2 separate regions of the Homo sapiens genome follow, and region 1 is linked to region 2. The links are contacts of gene promoters, found by promoter capture Hi-C in human tissues and cell types (Jung and others, 2019). All regions are on one chromosome and are shown on one strand. Each heading gives the region's core, a stretch centred on a gene start or on the middle of the fragment in contact. The rest is flanking DNA. Distances are from core to core; before and after follow the strand shown. Region 1 overlaps COPS8 (COP9 signalosome subunit 8). Region 2 holds the start of ACKR3 (atypical chemokine receptor 3).

Evidence for each region. Contacts are between HindIII fragments. The study calls those that stand out against the background at their distance.
Region 1: a fragment that was not itself captured here is called in contact with the fragment with the promoter of ACKR3 in region 2 in 1 of the 25 tissues and cell types used here (spleen).

The regions. Positions count from the first base shown.
Region 1 is chr2:237,099,282-237,103,402 of GRCh38, forward strand. COPS8 (COP9 signalosome subunit 8) reads left to right here. Exons shown (of 8, transcript NM_006710.5): 8 at 1-1,193. Among named protein-coding and RNA genes, the nearest start is that of COPS8, 15 kb to the left of the region's middle. The HindIII fragment of the contact is 7,817 bases long and covers 1-4,121 here.
Region 2 is chr2:236,567,011-236,571,307 of GRCh38, forward strand. It overlaps ACKR3 (atypical chemokine receptor 3), which reads left to right and starts at 2,815. Exons shown (of 2, transcript NM_020311.3): 1 at 2,815-2,914. RefSeq lists enhancers at 300-1,175, 1,176-2,051 and a silencer at 825-874. The HindIII fragment of the contact is 7,550 bases long and covers 1-4,297 here.

The sequences.
Region 1 (4,121 bases), core at 423-2,922, 530 kb after region 2:
ATTTCCTTATATTTCAAAACTAAGCAATTGGGGGATATATACAAAATGAATATAATAGTTCCCTAAAGAGGAAGGAGAGGACAGTGAACTACTACATAGAGAAAAAATAATCTCAAGTGATCAAACACAATATTTCAATTTTACATTGTCAGTGGGATATACACTAAGGACAGAAAAAAATCTTAGACTAATGAATGTGGTTTTTCATGATTAATTTCACAAAATCTTGATATCTTTTTTATTATTAAAAGTATAGATTAAATTAATAATCATGTAACATTAGACCCCAGTAATCTTAAATTTGACATGGAAACCTCATTATATGCTTTATTTTTCTTTGTAAACAGTAAATATTTCCCACTCCTGTCTACATGAAAAGGTCTAGAGTAATTACAGTTCAGTAACAATGAGCACCACTAGTACCCAGATGGTGTTCTTTCATTTTCATTTGCAATTAAAAGGAATCAGAACTTATTTGCAAAACAGCTAATAGTTCCAGGGCAGTAAGTGTACAAGTTCATATCTGGTACAAGATGTCCAGGATTCAAGGAGGCTCTTAAAGACTTGGGATTCTGTCAAAGGGTTATACAAGCCAACTTGAAGGGATTTCTACAGGCCATGTAAAAATGAGACAGTTTGAGCATGAAATATTTGTATATGTGTCTGTTTTTAACTCTTAATAACCTCATCACTGTACAAGAAAGGCAGGGTAAGTGCTTGATTTCACTTCCCTTTATTATCAGTTCTCAGGACAAATTGATATGCTGCCAATCTCTAAAGCAACAAAATCGAACCTGTAGGGTAGTCAAAAAGCTCATGCTGGAAAATTCCACCGAATAAAGATAAAAGTTAGAAAAACGGTACTTGCAGCCCTTAATGAAACAAAGAAGGGATCATGGAAATATATATCAATGCTGTTGAGACCACAGGGTAAGAAATTGAGATTGAGCATGAAATATGTCCAGTACATCCATCAGCCTGTCTTTGTGCTCTGGCTATTTCTGAGCCAGCCATCTGTGTACAAGTGTAGCCTGACAGCACCCTGTTTCAGATCCATTGGATATCTCTAAAATTTGCTCTGGGACTTACCCTGGCACTACTATCAGGATGCCCACACAAACCTGATTGGGCAGCCCATCAGCAGTTGTGAACATGACATGGTGAATAAACACTCTCTTCCTTGTCTCAGGGCAGACTATTTCCAATGTGTTCTATACCTAGATCCTCAAAAAGAACCCCCAAAAAATTGAGCTGTGGTGTCCCATGGTCATAAGCTCTCTAATGCAGCCTTCAATTGTTTTTTCCTCATTCCTTGTTTTACTTTTCCTGGTTCCCTGTCTCTTGTTCCCGGAGATCAATAGAAGTGATCTGTCTACATATCTTTACATACCTATGCTATTCTGCCTTGGGGCGGGGATCGGGGACCTAGTCAAATCAAAGGGAAGTGTGTAACACATGAATCAGACTGAAAGCACCTGAATTTAATTTTATATATATAAGTATATATATATATGTGTATATATATATATATATATATATAATACGTATATGCATATATATAGTATATAAATATATACATATATACATGTACATATATATATATTTAAAGGTTTAGATCTGCTACTTTACATAAAATGTGAGAATTAATGGAACAAGTTAAACATCCCACTAAGAAACAGCCAGTTCCAGAATGTGGGAAATTTAACAGGATTAGTGAGTTTGCTTGAAAAATAAATGACAAAAAGTCAGGGGGTGGTAGTAAGTATGAAAATGTCTGTTCCTGGGTTGAAGTACCTTGAGGCCAACTCAGAATTGTGTCAATAACTAATAGGTGAATACCCACATTTATCCCTTGAGAGGCATCAGCCCCTAAATCAATGAGGAATGTGGAGCTAAGATTTGAGAGTACTGCAATGAGGTCATCTGCAGCAGCTCTTTGCAGGGTCGGTGGCAGGTGTTTGCTGATTCCACAGGGCACAGCAAGATTCAAGCTTTGCCTGGTGAGGGGCCTGCTGCTGAATAACCTAACAACCTGTGGAATTTGGGCACTTTGAAAGGGCTGGGGTGATAACAATGGAGACTTGAGAGGGCTAAACCACACTGTTTACCCTTCAAAACATTTGGTGAACTTTTAAGCTGCCTAGGGTAGGAGACCAAAAAGCAAGTCAAAAACCTTTGAGAAACAGTTCCGTTTTCCTGGAGTTTTGCTATGTCAGCGCTCCATTAAACAAGGTTGTTGGGTGGGGGAAGGTGTTTGCTTATAAATATAAACCAGAAGTAGAATATTAGTAAAACTGCTCCTGGAAGACAGGTCAATATAAAATATTAAGCTGAAGTACAGAAATGAAACAGTGGAACTTAACTGGCAATTGTGTTGGAGACATGTGGTACACAGCATAGCGATCTACCATTTATCTAATTGGAATCCAAGGAAGAGCGAGAATATAGAGTGGAAAAATAGAAGTACCAGCCCAGAATTTTCTGAAAGTGATGAAAGAAATCAATCCACAGATTCAAAAAGCTCAGAAAACCCCCACAGAGGATAAATGCAAAGAAAACCACACCCAGACAACAGTAGTAAAACTACTGAAAACCAGAGACAAAGAGAATATATTAAAAGCACAGAGGGAGGACCCGGGGGGACATTATCTTCAAAGAAGTAGTGGTAAAGCCAGACAGTGAAATGGCATTTTTAACATGTTGAAAGAAAAATAAAATCCTAACTGCTATATACAAAAGATCCTCTTTTAATATTTCTGTGTTCTTACATTTAAAAGTTGGAAAAAGATATACCATTGCAAATACTAACCAAAAGAAAGTTGGTGCACCTTTGATAGTAAGAGTTGGCCCTCCATATCTGTGGGTTCTACATCTGTGATTCAATCAACTGTGGCTCAAAAATATTTGAAATTTTTCTAAAAAAATACAGCATAACAATTATACATTGCATTGTATTAGGTATTAAATCTAAAGTATACGAGAGAATGTGTATAGGTTATTTGCAAATACTATGTTATATAAAGGACTCTGATCTACAGATTTTGTATACTTGGCAGTCTTGAAGCCAAGTATATCCCCTGTGAATATCGAAGGGTGATTGTATTAGGCAAAGTAGACCTCAAGGCAAGAAGCATTATTAGAGATAGAAAGTAATTTTTAATGAAAAAGATTGCATATAGTTTCCTTCTGTAACAAATTACTGCAAACTTAATGGCTTAAAACAACACAGATGTATTATCTTACAGTTCTGCAGTCCACAAATCTGAAATGGGTCTCACTGGGCTTATGTCAATAGGGCTGCATATTTTTCTGTAGGCTCTAGGGGACAAGCTGTTACCTTGCCCTTTCCAGCTTCTAGAGGCCGCCCGCATTTCTTGGCTCATGCCCCTCTTTCTCCACCTTCAAAGCCAGCAACATTGGGTAGAGTTATTTTCACACTGCTCGATCTCTGGTTCTCTCTTCTGCCTCCTTTTTTCCACTTTGAAGGACCCTTGTAATTATATTGGGCCCACCTGGAAACTCAGGATACTCAGTCTATTTTGAGGTGAGCTGATTAGCAATCTAGTTCTGTCTGCTATCTTAATTTCCTTTTCCCATATAACCTGAGATTCTACGGATTCAAATATAGACATTTTTGGATGTCCGTTATTCTACAGAGATCAGTCCAAAAGGCAACAGGAATATGTAGCAATTCTAATTTTATATTCAAAATATAATCAAGTGGAAGTTTACCGAACTAAAAGGAGAAAAGAGTCATCTATAATCATACTGGAAGACATAATACACCTCTCATTAGCTGATGGCATGAACAGACAATATCACAAAGAACATAGCAAAGGTGACAGACTTGATCTAATTGGGATACATAAAACACTAACCAACAATGACAAAATATAATTTCATTTTATGCTGTATAAACCATTTACCAAAATTGAACACATAAAGGACCATAAAGCCCTAATACATTACAAAGAGTAGAAATCAAAATGAGTGCATTCTCTGAAAACAGTGGGATTAAGCTAGAAATCAATAAAGCCATAGAGATTACTAGGAAATCTCTAACTGCTTAGGAATTATGTAGTTGTCTGGGCATAGTGGCTCACACCTGTAATCCCAGCACT
Region 2 (4,297 bases), core at 1,565-4,064:
CTTCTTTTTCTTTTGACAGAGTCTCACTCTGTCACCCAGGCTGGATTGCAATGGTGCAATCCCGGCTCACTACAACCTCCGCCTCCCGGGTTCAAGCGATTCTCCTGCCTCCCGAGTAGCTGGGATTACAGACGCGCGCCACCGCGCTGGGCTAATTTTTTGTATTTTTTAGTAGAGATGGGGTTTCACCATGTTGGCCTGGCTGGTCTCGAACTCCCGACCTCGCGATCCGCCCGCCTCGGCCTCCCAAAGTGCTGGGATTACAGGCCTGAGCCACCGCGCCCGGCCGGGTCTGCATTTCTGTATGAGGGCTCCCATGCCGCGTGAAACTTGCACTATGCTTTCCTCCTATTCATCTATCTTATGTCAATTTAATTCTCGGACCCAGCCGGGACCCCTAGAGGATGGAGGTGGAGTTCTGCCCTTACACTGAAAGCACAATCTTCCAAAAGCAGAGACACTCTTCAAAACTTTGAAAAGAGACTTTTAGGTCCTAGGGCAATGGAATCTCGTTTTCTCAAAAAGCCCTGCTTGCTTACCCTCTCGTTTTCCCCCAGGCCTGTTTTCTGGGACAGGGTGGGAGGCCCAAGGAGACAGCCAAGTTCAGGCCCCAAGCACCCAGCTCCTCCTCCCAGGGTGGGAGCCTGGCCAGAGTTCCCGACCCACCCCGCCCCATTCCCCGCTGGCGCTTGGTCCGCCCCTCCCCGTCTGGAAGCCTCCAGCAGCCCCGCCCGGCGGAACTAGGGGACGGGTGGGGGACGTCGAAGGGCGAGGGCGGTGACCCCGGGGCCAGAATTCTCGCAGGCGCCTGGGCCGGGTGCCCGGCCGTGCGTGAGTGCGGAACAAGTCTGGGCGCGGGGAAGGGCGTGGGTGCGGGCCGTGGGTGGGTGCGGGGCAGGGCGCGGGGCTGTGGGAGGGCGCGAGGCCGTGTGTGGGTGCGGGGCTGGGTGCAGGCCGTGGGTGGGCGCGGGGCCGGGGCTGGCGGGGCAGGGCGCAGGCTGCTGCAAGGCGGCCTCGTGGATTCTGGCCCCGGACGCACGAAGCGGGTTCTACTTTTTAAAAAAACTGCGTTGCCTTTTCCTTCCTCTACGTTAGCATCCTGTCCGGGGTCCCCGGCCCATGTGGCCTTTCTTCCAGCGACAGTACACTTAGCTCAGAACGGATTGACACCCACTCTGTGTTTCCACCGGGCGCGCAGGCTCTGCAATGCGGAGCGCGTTCTCTGAAGGACAGGCCCCGGAGTCACGGCTACAGCCACAGAAAGCGGAAACCGAGCTGCAGTCCAGAGGGGATCCCCGTACATTTCCAGCGGGCTCAGACACAGGGTCCCCCACAAGAAAGAAACAGGACAGAAAAAGTCAGGACACGTATGCTGTGGAGAGTCGAGGTCTCGCCTAGATCTTGGGTGTGGGTAGACGCAGCCGCTGGCAGTTTTCCTTTCCAGCGTCTCTGGGGAGCCTGGAGATGTCCTTGGTGCCGATGTGACACGAAGAGTGATTGCGCCGCCCTGCAGAGGCGGTGGCGGGACGCTGCGCTCGGGCTGGGAAAGGCCGGCCCCAGGGCGACCCCTCCGGAGGCCCCCGGAGAGCAGGTGTGCACCTCGCCTCCCGCTGGGCAGCCAGTTCAGGAGAAAAATGTGAAGCTTTTAGCTAAACAAAATATTTCTTTCGTTAAGGGCTTTCTCCACACGGAGACTTTCTAGCCACGTGAGACTTTGACCTCCCAGTCCCCCAGATTCAGCGCTGGGACCGAGCGTCTGCTGTTATTTTTAGTAGAAGTATAAAAAGAATCTCGAAAAGTTTTAGCTCTGGAGAAGGCGTGAATACAGCTGGTGCCTTCATACACTCCACTTGAGCCGCTCTTTAAGAACTCCAGGAGATCAGAAAGCAATACGAAAGCCAGAGCATTGCACATGGGATGGGCTGGCGGGTGGCCTTTGGGTCCCTATCTTATGGACGATTTTTGTAAATGGGGCATTGGAGATGAGTATCACCTGGATCACATTTTTAGGTTGAATTCCTCCGTGGGGGGAACTTTAGCAATACGCATCCAAATAAGAATGTAGATTGCAATAATTGTAGTAAAGTGTTTGCCAGACTCATCTCAGAAAAAGACATTATCAAAAGGCATTTATTATCTTCCTAATGCGTGTCTGGCACTGGGCAGACACTGTAGAATACTATCTTGATTAGAGTCTCAAGGATTTTGTACTTAAAGTCCTTTACAAATAAAAGTATTCAAGTATAATCTATTATAAAGACTCTTTTCTCCACTTTGGGGATATACGGTGTGGCATCGATTCATTGGTCATACCAAAACTGTTACTTCTGTTTTGGAGGAATTAACAAGGAAAACCCAGGCTTAGTAAATCAACATCGAAGTTCAGAAGTTCAGAGTAATTTGTCTTGGGAACAAAGTCCTCCCTAGAGCGAAGAGGCATTCACAGGAGCTCTTGGTGTTAATGGGATTATTCAAGATATACCTGAGACCAGATAAATATTTGATGATTTTGCCAAGCACTAGGGTTTCTTTGCAGTTTGTCTTTGGCTGACGTTTTCCCCCCGTGGGGTTTGGACTTTGTGGCTTCACCAGATTTTGCAAATGAAAGAAGGCTGGGGTTTCCCAAGAGTACACTTGTGCAGGAAACAACAGACTAGTGAGGTTTACAAGAGGGGGGTGTGTGTGTGTGTGTGTCTGCCTGTGGGATGGGGGTGGCACGGGGGAGAGAGAGATGTGGGTTACAAAGCTGCCATCTAGAGGCTAGAGGCTCCTTTCTGCAGTGTATATAATGCAAGTCTGCAGCCAGCAGAGCTCACAGTTGTTGCAAAGTGCTCAGCACTAAGGGAGCCAGCGCACAGCACAGCCAGGAAGGCGAGCGAGCCCAGCCAGCCCAGCCAGCCCAGCCAGCCCGGAGGTAAGGAAACGGTGCTCGGGCAGCAGCTCTGCTCGGAAAGAAGGCACGGCTTCTGCTCTTAAGCCAAGTGGTCTTTTCAAAGGCCTTCTTTAAAATCGCTCAGATGGGTGCTTTTGAGTCTGCGGGTCTGGTTTCTGAAAACCCAGGCTGCACGCAGCTGCATTGCAAAGTGCTTTTGCTAATTCGGAGGGCTTCACCTTTCTCTTCAGAAAGCAAAGGGCAGTTTTCTTAAGTCACTTGCAGAAGGAAATTTCCATGTGTATTTAGGAATCTGGTGTTTATTTGCTGTGTGGCTATTTAAGCTCCAGTAAGCAGGGGAACTTTGCAAGAACACAGACTATCCATTCTGCCTGACCAATTTGGCATGGGGATTAGCTTGGCACCCACTGTTTACCTGTTTTGCTTCTAGTATATCAGTTTGGAAACAGATAAAATTGGCAGTAAATACGTAATTCCAGAATGATGAACACTTTATTAAGAGGCATCCTTAAATGGAGCAGAAAACTGCTGAGAATCTTTGTGAGTCCAAGATGTATTTGAATTCAGTACTTTGGGGGATTTACCAGAGTCTGTAAGTCCGGAAGCTATAAACGTGAATGTTAAACACAGCCCGGTCTTCTCTTCTCTTGATGGCACGCTTGCTAATCTAATTTGAGTATTGTTCTCTTAGAAGGTGTTAAGTCCAACTTCAATTGGGGTTGGGGGAAGCACACACACAAATCTACTATTTTGCAATTTAAATATACTCTTCAGGTAAAATGTGGATTTTGTTCAATTTTGTTGGCATGTGCAAAGATTCAAGGAGTGACTGAGAGAACTTTGGAGTGAGGTCAGGGATGGGTGGTTAGCCAAGACTTGTAACTTCCAGGGAGAATGAGAAGTTGTAAAAGTCAGACTGGCTGTCTCTCTTTCTCTCTTCCTCTTTCTTTCTTTCTTTCTTTCCTTTTGCTCACAACAGGATTACTTAGTGTTTCAAAAGTGGGAGAGAGCCTCCTTAAATGGTTTACAGCCCTTTGAATGTATTTGGTGCAGTGACATCCCCTGAAACTTCAGTCTGCAAAGTCTCAACATGGTAACTTTGTTCTTTTCTTTTTTAAAGGCAGATGCTGCTTTTAGTGTCCCTTTATTTATTCCAGGAAAAATGTGGACATCAGCTAGGCACGCCTAGCAAAGAAAGTGGAGGCTGCTGGTTTCTGTGCTTTAACTTTCCATAGATTTTAAATGGATAAACTGCTTGCCCTTCTTTCATCAGAATATGAGCTTTCCCCAGATGGAAAGTCTTTTCTAAAGCAAAGTTGCACATGGGAGCTCTAGCTTGGAAACAATTTGCTCTTTTTTCCCCAGTCTCTGCCATAAACACTTGAATGTGCACACAACTGCAGA